Regions from separate parts of the Homo sapiens genome. Here region 1 is linked to region 2. Evidence: promoter capture Hi-C in human tissues and cell types (Jung and others, 2019). All regions are on one chromosome and are shown on one strand. Each heading gives the region's core, a stretch centred on a gene start or on the middle of the fragment in contact. The rest is flanking DNA. Distances are from core to core; before and after follow the strand shown. Region 1 holds the start of FSTL3 (follistatin like 3). Region 2 holds the start of MADCAM1 (mucosal vascular addressin cell adhesion molecule 1).

Evidence for each region. Contacts are between HindIII fragments. The study calls those that stand out against the background at their distance.
Region 1: the fragment with the promoter of FSTL3 here is called in contact with the fragment with the promoter of MADCAM1 in region 2 in 1 of the 25 tissues and cell types used here (lymphoblastoid cells).

The regions. Positions count from the first base shown.
Region 1 is chr19:673,639-679,727 of GRCh38, reverse strand. It overlaps FSTL3 (follistatin like 3), which reads right to left and starts at 3,336. Exons shown (of 5, transcript NM_005860.3): 1 at 3,202-3,336; 2 at 1,751-1,936. The coding sequence starts at 3,304. RefSeq lists a silencer at 1-25 and an enhancer at 480-982. The HindIII fragment of the contact is 14,894 bases long and covers 1-6,089 here.
Region 2 is chr19:495,223-501,659 of GRCh38, reverse strand. MADCAM1 (mucosal vascular addressin cell adhesion molecule 1) reads right to left here and starts at 5,174. Exons shown (of 5, transcript NM_130760.3): 1 at 5,109-5,174; 2 at 3,543-3,827; 3 at 2,835-3,164. The coding sequence starts at 5,160. It overlaps MADCAM1-AS1 (MADCAM1 antisense RNA 1), which reads left to right. Exons shown (of 3, transcript XR_936221.4): 2 at 36-119; 3 at 1,800-1,891. RefSeq lists a silencer at 5,807-5,856. The HindIII fragment of the contact is 26,139 bases long and covers 1-6,437 here.

The DNA of each region.
Region 1 (6,089 bases), core at 2,087-4,586, 180 kb before region 2:
GAACCAGGAGCTGCCCCGCAGCCCCGCTGCTCAGACAGGGATATTGAGGTCCTGCTAGGGAAGCTCTCTCTGGGGTCCCCGCCCCCGCTTTCAATGTGAATGCTCATCGCCTCCTAGGCTTATCGCATCTTCCCAAGTCATCATTTTACAGATGGGGAAACTGAGGCCGGGTCGCAGCTATGAGTGCAGGGGCCCAAGCACCTCAGTTTGAAAGCTGCAGCCAGGACCCAGATGACCAACCCCCTTTCTGTTATCTGGGGGTCTGGTAGGGCCTCTGAACACAGCTGTTGAGTTTATGTGCCAGCCTCAGTTTCTCTGTGTGTAAAGTGGGGCTGACGAGGGAGCCCCACTTCCAAGGCAGTGCGGCACTCCTTAGGGGATGGCCAGCGCCCGCCACGCAGCCCTTGCAGGGCATGTGGGCCGCACCTGGGCGGCCCCGGCACAGCGGCTCACAGGCACATCTGGAAATGCTCGGCCAGGGTGGCTTTTATGCGAGCGAGAACGGAAGGGGGCCTGAGTTCCGTCCCCAGGGCCAGATGAGGTTGGGGGTGGGGGGTCCTGGGCCGTCTCATGCCCAGGCCAGGCACTTTTTGAAGACTGTCCTTCTCCCAGAAGCCAGAGGGGGGTCTGGAGGGAGCAGGGGTATGTGGCAGTGAGTTCAGGACCACCCAGCCAGGCTGATCTGGGATTAATCACATCTCAGAGGCCAGCAGAGTTCCTCAGCCTGGCCTTCGGGTCTGCAGCCCTCAGCTTCAGCCTCCCCTTGGCTCCTCTGCCTGACCCCACCCACCAGGACCTAACCTCAAGCCATGTTCTCTCCTGATCCACTCTCCCATACCGGCCCCATCTGGCAAACTCCTAGACATCCCCCAACACCCCAGCTCTAATGCCCACCTCCTTCAAGATGTGCCCCAACAGGCCAGGCATGGTGGCTCACGCCTGTAATCCCAGCACTTTGGGAGGCCAAGGCTGGCAGATCACTTGAGGTCAGGAGTTTGAGACCAGCCTGGCCAATGTGGTGAAACCCTGTCTCTACCAAAAACATAAAAATTAGCCAGGTGTGGTGGCGCGCGCCTGCAGTCCCAGCCCCTGGGGAGGCCGAGGAAAGAGAATCACCTGAACCTCGGAGGCCGAAGTTGCAGTGAGCCAAAATCGCACCACTGCACTCCAGCCTGGGTGACAGAGCGAGGCTCCATCTCAGGAAAAAAAAAAAAAAAAAAAAAAAAAACCATCATCCTCCAGTGCGGAGAATCTTATTCATTCGTTCTGTGCCACTCGCCAACCAAGAGCCCCTAGTCTGATGTGGGAGGCATCCTCTCAAAACAGGGTCCCGAGGCAAATGCTTGTTAAACATGCAGCTGTAACCCCACCGCAGACCCTGGAGTCTGCAGTGAAGGTCCCTGGTGTGGACATTTGGGGTCACAGGCCAGAATGGCAAACCCACCTTCCCAGGAGCTAGGTGCAAGCCAGACATTTATCGACCAGGTGGGAAGAGCCACCCAGGCAGAGAGCTCAGCCCCAGCAAAGGCTGGAGCCACGTGGTCTCTTCCTGAGTCCTGAGCTGCAAGAGGCTGGAGCCTGGGAACCGGGAAGTCCCCCCAGTCCCTCTCTGAGGCTGGGATCCCCCTGCAGCCTCCTACATACCCCTGTGACGGGCTCAGTCCCTGGACGTTCGGCCCTCGACCACCATGACTGTTTGTGGCTGGTCCTGAGCTGAGACGTCTGCCCTGCTTCTGGCCTGAGGTCTCACCTTTGCAGGGAAGGCAGTGGACAAGGCCCAAGAAGCCGAGGAGGTTGATCTTGTTCCCCGGGTGGGTGAGGTTGGACCAGGCGGTGTCAATGTTGCCGGAGGCACAGCACTCGGCCCGGGTGACATCAGTCTGGAGCACCAGGCTGCAGGTGGCCTCCTGGCCCTGCTGGAGCCAGCAAACACCACCTGCGGGCCGGGGAACGGGGTGCTCTCCTGGGCCACTCCTGACACCCAGCTTCTGGCCCGCCCACAGATGCATGCAGGTGGTGCTGAGTAGTTACGCACGGAATGATCTACCCCCACCCAGGAAGAAGGGGCAGAAAACCACATGGGTGTCCCCACCCTGGCTCCAGAACCCTGGAAATGTCTCCTCCCCTCTGAGCTCCACGTGCCCCCCCCCACAGCCTCACCACCAACCCCCACCCACCCCAGGAGGTCCCTTCCCGTACCCTCCAAGCCCCCAGGCCAGGGGCTGGCACCCTGCCCAACCCCTCAAACACCACCAAACACCAGGCACTGGGCATGTCAGGGTCAGCAGGCCCTGGAGCCGCTTCTCCCGCCTCTGCCCTCTGTCTAGACAGCACCCGAGGGCGAGGGCACGCGGAGCCCCGCGCCTGGCAGCCCCCCCACCGCCTGGCCCGCCTCTTACTCACTCCAACTTGGGAACATTCCCCTTGCATGAGCTCACTGTCTCCCCAGGGACGTGGCCTTCGGGGAGGGGGCTCTGCTCTCCCTTTGGCGCAGGGCTGGGGTGGGGTGGGGCTGCAGGGATGGGGGGTGGGGAGCCAGAGAGCCCCCCATTTCTTCCCCCGTCCCTGGGGGCAGGAACGGCCACAGCCCCCATCCCAGAGCGCTTGCTGGTTCACAGACACTGCCAGGGACCAGCTTGTGGAACGCAGCACCTTGGCACCCATCATAGGAGGGGAAACTGAGGCCAGGAGTGGGGCCGTCTCCTGCCTGGCACCTCCCGGCAAGTCCCAGGTGTGAGACTCCATGCCCCGTCTACCCAGGACCCGGGAAAGCTCTCAGCCCCAGCTGGAGGGCCTGGCTCCCGACACCCAGCACTACCTCTCGGCACCAGGACCGACCCGGACGGTCGCGGCTAGAACCCTGGCTTTGCCTGCTACAGGCTGTGTGACCCTGAGCCTCAGTTTCCCCATCTGGAAGACGGAGATGAAGAGAGCTCCGGCACTATCGGGATGGCACAGGTTCAGGGAGGGGAGAGGTAGACACTAAGCGCTCAATAAATGTCAGCGGTCATTGTGATTAGAAACCTCTGCTCTGCTGACCTCTTGGTGACCCTCCTTCAGACCTTCCCGGCTCCAGCTTGCGCCGGACACCGCCCTCGCCCCCGCCGCCGCCGCCGCGCCCCCCGACGTCCCCCCGGCCGCATTCCGCGCAGCCCCACGTGGGTGGCCCGCCCCGCCCGCCCCTCTGGCCGCCCCACTCACCGGGCGCGGGGTTCCCCGAGCCCATGGAGCTCACGAAGCCCACGGCCCAAGCCAGGGCCCCCCAGGGCAGAGGCCAGAGTGGCCCTGGCGCCCCGGGACGCATGGCGAACGCAGAGACGGCAGCGGCACCGACTTCCCAGCGCGCGGCCGGCGCTCCCTATAAAGGTCCCGCGGGCCGCGGGCGGGGCGGGGCGCGGGGCGGGGCGCGGCGCGGGAGTGGCGGGGGCGAGGCCGTGTCCCGCGCGGGGTGGGCAGGCGCCGGGCCCGGCCGCTGCGGGGGGCAGTTGGGGGCGAGCGCCCGGGTCCCCTTCCGGAGCCAGAGAATGCATTTGGGGAGATGTGGCTGGACCCAGGGCGGAACCGGGACAGGGGTGTGGGTTCGAGGTGGTGGCAGCCTTTTGGGTGGATCGAGGGGCCGTCTCCAGGAATTAAAGTGGGTTTGGGGGTCTTCAGTTTCAGGGGTGGCGGTGAGGTAACGGGGACCCAAGAGGAGCACGTCTGTGGATCCCTGCATCCCGTTTCTGTGATTTGCATGTGGTCACTTTCATGGTCCAAGTGTGGTCTGAGCCCCCCAACCCGGCCTCCTTGTTCCCGACCCGCCCCACACACCCAAAACCTCAGCTGGATATGGTTCCCTGCTCACAGCGCGGGCCGCGCACCCGTCCACCTGGCCGCTGGAGCCGGCCTGTGGGTGGGGAGTGGTTGGGTGTGGGACAGAACGGGGTGCGGCCGGGACAGACCCAGAGACACAGCTCCTTCCAGCATCTCGGACAACAGCAGGCCTCGCCCAGCCACGGCCCCCAGGGAGGCCACTGCGTGTGTGTGTGTGTGTGTGTGTGTGTGTGCGCGCGCACGCCTGGCCTTTGTCCTGGGCCCCTGGGCAGCTCTGCCCCATCAGCCCTCCAAGCCTTTGCAGACATTCCCCCAGATCACCTCAACAAGAATGTTTACTAGGTTTTTTCCTCTCCCTCCAAGATTCAGCAAACACTGTTTCCAGCAGAGGCGTTTCCAACAATGTATGACAGCGACATCTGCGTGGGCCTGGAGGCGCTGCGCCCGAGGGGGCTTTCGTGCAGCCAGACACATTTCCTACTCTGGAGCTGATTCTGTCATGGGGGCCTCCAGATTTGTCAGGCGCCCTTGGCGAGCGCAGGGGAGCCCCTCTGTTCCTGCTTCTAGGGCATCAGTGAACATCTCTTTTGGCCAGAGGGACCCTGCGGGGTGCTGGGGTGCCACGGTGACCAAGGCAGACCCCATCACACCCTCACCGAGCTCCTGGTTTGGACAACAAAATGCAGAGACAAATTAATCTATAACTTCAAGGAGTGGTAAATGCTTTCAGGAAAATACAGAAGGTTGAGGTGGTGGAGAGCGGTTGGGTGTCTGCTGGGCATGCCTGTGTCTGGCCACTCGCTGTGCCGGCATTGCCCACCCCGCAGGTGGAAACGGACGTGTCCAGCAGCCCCACGGCACAGCCCCTTCTCTGGCCTGAGTGAGATCTGTGCCCACAGAAGACACACCTGTACCCTTTCCTCCACCTTAGCTGCCCAGCCTGTGTCCCCCAGCAGCCAGTGGCCAGGGGCCAAGTTCTGCCTTAGTGGCACTGAGGGGGGACACCCCGCCGTCTTGACCTGGCCTTGGCCTCTGGCATTTCCCCCGGGAATCTCCCCGGCTTGGGGAGCAGGGCAGGGACGGGACCCTGTATTCTCACTGAGGGGGGACACCCCGCCGTCTCGACCTGGCCTTGGCCTCTGGCATTTCCCCCGGGAATCTCCCCGGCTTGGGGAGCAGGGCAGGGACGGGACCCTGTGTTCTCACTGAGGGGGGACACCCCGCCGTCTCGACCTGGCCTTGGCCTCTGGCATTTCCCCCGGGAATCTCCCCGGCTTGGGGAGTGGGGCAGGCACAGGACCCTGTGTTCTCACTGACGGGGGACACCCCGCCGTCTCGACCTGGCCTTGGCCTCTGGCATTCCCCCGGGACTCTCCCGGGATTGGGGAGTGGGGCAGGGATGGGACCCTGTGTTCTCACTGAGGATGTGCGGGGGCTGGACAGTGTGACCTTGGCCAAGACCTGACCCCGCCGTGGCTTGGCCACTCCGGCCTGGGCTGTGCGAATCAAAGGGTCATTGTCTGGCTGGCGTGGGTTCCGGCCCTCTCCGGGGAAACCGAGGCCAGCTGCCAGTGGCCTCCTGCTCCCGGCTCTGTCTTCCCTAACCCAGAGGCTCTGTGCAGGGTGACCTCTAACAGGTCACTGACCCTTTCCAGAGCGCCGCCTCCTCCTGAGACCCCAGTGATGACCTCCCCTCTCCCGGCTCTGCCCCTCTCCCCACCCTATCCAGGCCCGAGGCTCATCCTAGGACTTCCAGCCCGCAGCCTGGCCCCTGCGGCCCACTTCCTACCCCAGCTGCCATAACACTTCTCCCTGGCTCAGACACCCACCGTGGCTCCTCGTGGCCTCTGCTCACCCCCCAGGCTTCTGTCTCCCTCCAGGTACATCCTGACAGGTAAACAGACAGTGACAATCCAGTGTTGTTCTGTGGCGGAGGATGCCCAGATGGCAAAGGTGCCCCAGGCCTGACCCGGGCCTGGGGGAGACTGAGGAAGGCTTCCCAGAGGAAAGAGACGTTGAGGTTGAGACTCGAACGTCAGACGGAGCGGCAGGGGTGTGCGCTGGAAACAGACGCTTGTGCTGTGAGTGAGGGGGAGAGCAGTGGGGGGTGGTCAGCAGAACGGCGGTCCCAGAGACCATGGGGCCCTCATCCCTAGAACCCGTGGGTGTCCCACCCTCCCTGGCCAAAGGGGCTCTGCAGATGGGACTGAGTTGAGGGCTTTCACACAGGGGTTCATCCTGGGTTATACGGATGGCCCACTGTCCTGGAAGGGTCC
Region 2 (6,437 bases), core at 3,925-6,424:
GAGTGAGGGTTTTTTTTTCCTCTCTGCTGCCCCAGGCTTGCCTCTCCTGCCTCAATCTCCGCATCTGGATGAAGGGCTTGGACCAGAACCCCTCCAAGCCCCTTCCCTGGACCACTCTGGTGAGTCACATTTCCATTTATTCTTTTTTTTTTTTTTTTTTTTTTTTTTTTTTTTGAGACAGAGTTTTGCTCTTGTTACCCAGGCTGGAGTGCAGTGGCGCAATCTTGGCTCACCACAACCTCCGCTCCTCAGGTTCAAGCGATTCCCCTGCCTCAGCCTCTGGAGTAGCTGGGATCACAGGCGCTTGCCACCACACCTGGCTAATTTTGTATTTTTAGTAGAGATGGGGTTTCTCCATGTTGGTCAGGCTGGCCTTGAACTCCCAACCTCAGGTGATCTACCCACCTCGGCCTCCCAAAGTGCTGGGATTACAGGCGTGAGCCACCACGCCCGGCCTGGTTTTTTTTTTTAGAGATGGGGTCTCACTCTGTCGTGCAGGCTGGAGTGCAGTGTTGTGATCATGGATCACTGCAGCCTCAACCTCCCAGGCTGAAGCCATCCTCCCCACTCAGCCTCCTGAGTAGCTGGGACCACAGGTGTGCAATACCACGCCCAGCTAATTTTTAAATTTTTTTGTAGAGATGGGAGGTCTCGTATGTTGCCCAAGCTGGTCTGGAACTCCTGTACTCAAGTGATCCTCCCGCCTCAGCCTCCCATGGCTGGCCTACATTTTTGTTTCTATTCGGCTTACTGTTCTAGTTGATAAAGCCTAGAATTTGTTGTTGTTGTTGAGATGGAGTCTCGTTCTGTTGCCCAGGCTGGAGTGCAATGGTGCGATCTCGGCTCACTGCAACCTCCGCCTCCCGGGTTCAAGCGATTCTCCCGCCTCAGCCTCCTGAGTAGCTGGAATTACAGGCGCTCACCACCACGCCAGGCTAATATTTGTATTTTTAGTAGGGGACGGGGTTTCACCATGTTGGTCAGGCTAGTCTCGATCTCCTAATCTCGTGATCCACCCACCTCAGCTTCCCAAAGTGCTGGGATTACAAGCATGAGCCACCGCACCTGGCCACATCTAATTTTTGTATTTTTAATAGAGATGGGGTTTCACTATGTTGGCCAGGCTGGTCTTGAACTCCTGACCTCAGGTAATCCACCCACCTCAGCCTCCCAAAGTGCTGGGATTACAGGCGTGAGCCCGGCCTAAAGCCTATAATTTATAAAGTGCTTTGAAATCCACATGGTCCCTGAAATTTACAAAGGACCCACAGTCAGGGAAGTCCACTGGACAGATGAGGAAGCTGAGGCACCACAGTGGGCAGGATGGGAGTCCGGGCATTCCAGGTCCCCCACTCACTGGCAACATCACCCCAGCAGCCTCCTTAATCTCCACGTGCCTCAGTTTCCTCAACTGTCAAAGGGGTGAGAGTCACCTCTTTGGGCTGCCCTGAGAGCGAGTGGGTCCCGCGTTTATTATGATGGGCTGTGGACGAGGAGAGTTGGGAGGAGGCTGGCGTGGAGAGAGAAGGTGCTTGGGGGCTTTCTGCCCTGGCCTTCTGCTCCATCCCCTGTGGGACTGATGGGGAGACTGAGGCCCGTGAGGGCCCGTGTTCTGTAAAATATCCCTCAAATCCAGCCTCCTCTCTGCCCACCCCAGCCCCACCCCCACCACAAAGACCTCCCGGGTCTCCCAGCTTCTGCTTTATCCCCGGGAGCCCTTTGCTTGAAACTCACGACCTCACGTCCATTAACATGGGTATCAGGGTGCCCCATGGGAGGACAAATCCCTTTTTCTTTAGTGGGAGAAGCCGGCAGGGGCTTCGGGATTGGACAGAGCGTGAAGGGAGCACCGCCAGGGCACCGGCCCACATTAAATGTCTTCATCCGAGCATTCAGCAAGGGTTTATTGAGCACCTGCTATGCCCCAGGCCCTGTTCTAGCTTCTGTGGACACAGCCGTGCGCGACACAAGATTCCCACCTGGGGAGCCACAGTGGGAGAAGGTCATGGAAAAGAGAATGTACGGGACTGGGGGATGTCAGATGTTATCCAAGGTGTCAAGAAACGAAACAGAAGGGAAAGGGGGCTCACACGCGTGTGCGTGTTTGTACACGCGTGTGCCTGTGTGCCTGTGTTTGTACACGCGTGTGGGTGTGTGCGTTTGTTCCCGTGTGTGCTTGTGTGCCTGTTTGTACACGCGTGTGCGTGTGTGCCTGTGTGCACGCGTGTGTGTGTCTGTGTTTGTACATGTGTGTGCTTGTGTGCCTATGTTTGTACACGTTGGGGATCAGGGGTTGACCCTTTAAACGGGAATCCAGGGAAGCCTCACGGAGGAGGCAACATTCTACAGAGACCTGAGGGGGAGGAGGAGAGAGCCGTGGAAAGATCCGGAAGAAGGGTATTCCCGGCAGAGGGCACAGCCGTGCAAAGGCCCCGGGGCAGGATCACGCCTGGTGTGTTGGAGGAACAGCGAGGAGGCGAGGAGGCCCGTGTGGCTGCAGCAGAATGAGGAGGGGGAGAAAGGGTGGAGGGAGGACAGGAAGGGGACAGGGTAGGTCGTGCAGGTTCCTGTGGGCCCCCGGGAGGACTTGGGCTTTGACCCCAAGGCAAGAGCCATGGAGCGCTGTGGGCAGGGGAGGGGTGGGACCTGTGCTGGGGGGCAGGTGCTCGGCAAATACATGTTGCGTCGATGAATGTCGCTGTCGCTGCGTGGGGGAATCCAGTCCTCCCAGCGCCCCACAGCACAGGTGCTGCCCCCCCACCCCCCCACCCCGTCCCGAAGTGCTTGTCAAGGCTGGCGAGCGGGTGGGTCTCCAGGGCACCCAGCGGACTCACCGGGGATGGCCTGGCGGTGGCTGAGCTCCAAGCCAGGCAGCCTCATCGTGGCCTGGCAGTAGAGGGCGGGCGGGACAGGGGTCCCCAGGGGCGGCAGCCGCCAGCGCTCTGTCACCCTGAACAGCACGTCCTCGTCCCCCTGGGGCTCCTCCTCCTCCTCCTGCACCTCCGGGCCCAGGGCTTGCGCCCCCTCCAGTTCCTGGCCCCCGACGAGCAGGGAGAAGGAGAGCGCGTTGGGGTCCACGGGCGTGACTTTGTGGGCCGTACAGGCCACCTCCGGGTCACCAGGCACCAGGGCTGCTGGGGAGACGGTCAGCTGGTCCGGGAAGGCTGTGATGGAGGGTCGGGGGTGAGGGCTGAGCCCAGAGTCAGGGCTGGACGTGATGGAGGGGCCGGAGCCCGGAGGGGCTTGGAGCTGGGGCCAAGGATGCGTGGGGGCTGCTGATGAACAGGCAGTAGGGACGGCCTGTGCGCAGGCCCCGTGGCCCCACCCTGGGAGGCTGGAATAGACAGGAGGATGGGCCAGGGCCGGCCCTGGGAGAGTTGGGGTGAGTTGGAGGGAAGCGAAGGCCGGGGACCTGGCTTCGGGGAGCTGTGCATGGAGCTGGGACCCTGCCTGCAATCTGGGAGGCTTCCAGGAAGAGGTGGCATAGGGAAGGAGCCGGGAGTCCAAGGGTCAGAGAGGCAGGGCGCGGGGGGACGCCTCACCGTACACAAGGAGCTGCACGGTGTGCTGGAAGGTGCGGCCCCCGCAGGAGCCCACGCACACGCGGGTCCCGGCCGCCGACAGCGAGGCGTTGCGCACGGTGAGGACGCTGCGGCCCGTGTCCGACTGCACCGCGCCCAGGCTGGTGTCCAGGCCCCGCCACTGCACCGAGGCCCCGCGGTCCGCGCAGGCCAGGCGGCAGGTGAGCTGGCGCGAGGCGCCCAAGGCCACGGCCACCACCGGCTCCGGGGGCTCCACCTGCAGGGGCTTCACCTGGAGGGACTGGCCTGCGGCGACCGCGGCTCTCGCTCAGCCCCGCGGAGTCCCGGACCCCGCCCCGCCACCGGCCCTGCGTCCCGCTCCACCCCCGGACCCCGCCCCGCCTCTGCCCGGTTCCCGGACCCTCCGCTGCACCCCCGGACCCCTGCCCCGCCGCTACCCGGACTCCCAGGCTCGGTCCCTGAACCCCGCCCCGACCGCCGCCTCTGCCCCAGTCCCCCGAACCCCAGCTGCCTGGAGCCAGTTTCGCTGCGGGTCAGGGGGCCGCGCGGAGCCCCGCAACTTCCCCTCTCAGCCCCTGCCTCCTCCGAGCCCCCTCCTCTGGCAGGATCACCAATCACCCCCTATCTCGGAGCCCCTTAACTCTGAGCACCCCTCGTCTCTCCCGCGCCCCCTCCGAGCCCCTCCTCTCTCCTGCGCCCCCTCTTAACTCCCTCCTCTCTCCCGCGTCCCCTCCCCGCTCACCGCGCCCCTTCCTCTCCCCCGGGCCCCCTCCCCTCTCCCGGGCCCCCCTTCTCTTCCGAACCCCCTCCCCTCTCCCGAGCCCCCTCCCCTCTCCCGAGCCCCCCTTCTCTTCCAAACCCCCTCCCCTCTCCCGCGCCCCCTCCTCTCTCCTGAGTCCTCTTCACTTTACTGCGCCCCCTGCTCTCTCCTGCGCCCCCTCCCCTCCGCGCCCCTCCTCTCTCCTGCGCCCCTTCTCTCTCCTGAGCCCCTTCTCTCTCCTGAGCCCCCTCCACTCTCCTGCGCCCCCTCCTCTCCCCTGCGCCCCTCCTCTCTCCTGCGTCCCTCCTCTCTCCTGAGCCCCCCCACTCTACTGAGCCCCCTCCCCTCTCCTGAGCCCCCTCCTAACTCCCTCCTCTCTCCCGCGTCCCCTCCCCGCTCACCGCGCCCCTTCCTCTCCCCCGAGCCCCCTCCCCTCTCCCGCGCCCCCTCCTCTCTCCCGCGCCCCCTCCACTCTCCTGCGCCCCCTCCTCTCTCCTGCGCCCCCTCCCCTCCGCGCCCCCTCCTCTCTCCCGCGCCCCCTCCTCTCTCCTGCGCCCCTCCTCTCTCCTGAGCCCCCTCCACTCTCCTGAGCCCCCTCCTCTCTCCTGCGCCCCTCCTCTCTCCTGCGTCCCTCCTCTCTCCTGAGCCCCCCCACTCTACTGAGCCCCCTCCCCTCTCCTGGGCCCCCTCCTCTCTCCCGGGCCCTCTCCTCTCTCCTGAGCCCCCTCCCCTCTCCTGAGCCCCCTCCTCTCTCCTGAGCCCCCTCCTAACTCACTCCTCTCTCCCGCGCCCCCTCCCCTTCTCACCGAGGAGGAGCCCCAGAAGCCCCGCCAGCAGGAGGGCCAGTCCGAAATCCATGCTCAGTCCCCTCTGTCCCGAGGCCGCGGGGAAGCCGCTTAAATAGAGGCGCCCACTCCTTCCCGCCGCCCGGCGACCCCGCTCCAGCTGCTCCCCGGGGGCTTCCCAAGGGGCTTTCCTGGCCTGACCCCCGACCCTGGAGGCGGCAGAGAGGCAGGGGCTGGGGGCCAAAGATGGGGCGGGGTCCCGGGGCCACTCAGGACGGGCAGGCAGGAAGGTCTGGGTCTGTTCCAAGCCTCATATTCAGGCACGGGAAGATCGCAGACGGAGGCCGGAGGGTCGAGGTCAAGTGCATGGAAGTGGGACAGAGGCTGGGCAGCGCCGCCCCCACCCCGACGGCGGGTCCCCTGCACTTTCTTTTCTTTTTTTTCTGAGTTTCGCTCTTGTTGCCCAGGCTGGAGTGCAATGGTGCGATCTCAGCTCACCGCAACCTCTGTCTCCCGGGCTCAAGCGATTCTCCTGCCTCAGCCACTCCAGTAGCTGGGATTACAGGCATGCGTCACCACGCCTGGCTAATTTTGTATCTTTAGTAGAGACAGGGTTTCTCCATGTTGGGCAGGCTGGCCTCGAACTCCCGACCTCAGGTGATCCGCCCACCTCGGCCTCCCAAAGTGCTGAGATCACAGGCGTGAGCCACCGCGCCCGGCCCGCCTGCACTTTCCCGGGCGGCCGCACAGGGGCGGTGGAGAGCAGCCCTCCCCCGTTCCGGAGCTGCAGGCCGGGTCTTGTTGGCTGGGGTCCCCTGGGGGTCAGGTGAAGGTCGCTGGGGATGGAGGCCCCCTGGACTGAAGTCTCCTGGCCGTGGTGGAGCTGTGAGACCCTCCAGGACGTGGGACAAGTCACCCCATCTCTGAGCCTGGCTTCCTTCCATCACACGGGCAGAGGCCGCCCACCTAGCAGGCCTGGCTGGAGCCTGGGAGCCCGAGTAGGGGCTGCCTCTGTTCCTTGGTCTACACTGAGACCTGGATCTCGGTCCACAAGAGGGATCTGGAAGGGATGCTGGCTGGACTCCCACTCACAGCTGCCATCAGCGAGTCCTGGGAACCTCATCTTCCAAACGCACTGGAATCCACCCACCTGTTCCTCCAAGCCCCGCACACTGGTTCTGTCTCCGCTGGTGGCTTGTTTACCCCCCTGCATCACCGGGACCCTCCCAGGGCCTCTGGGACTCTGCCCGGGCTGCTCCTCACCTTACCCAGGTTCTGCCCACCCCCTCACCCCCTCGCCCCCCACCCTCCTCCGCTGTGGTTCCCAGGGTGCTCTGCTCCTAGCTCAAT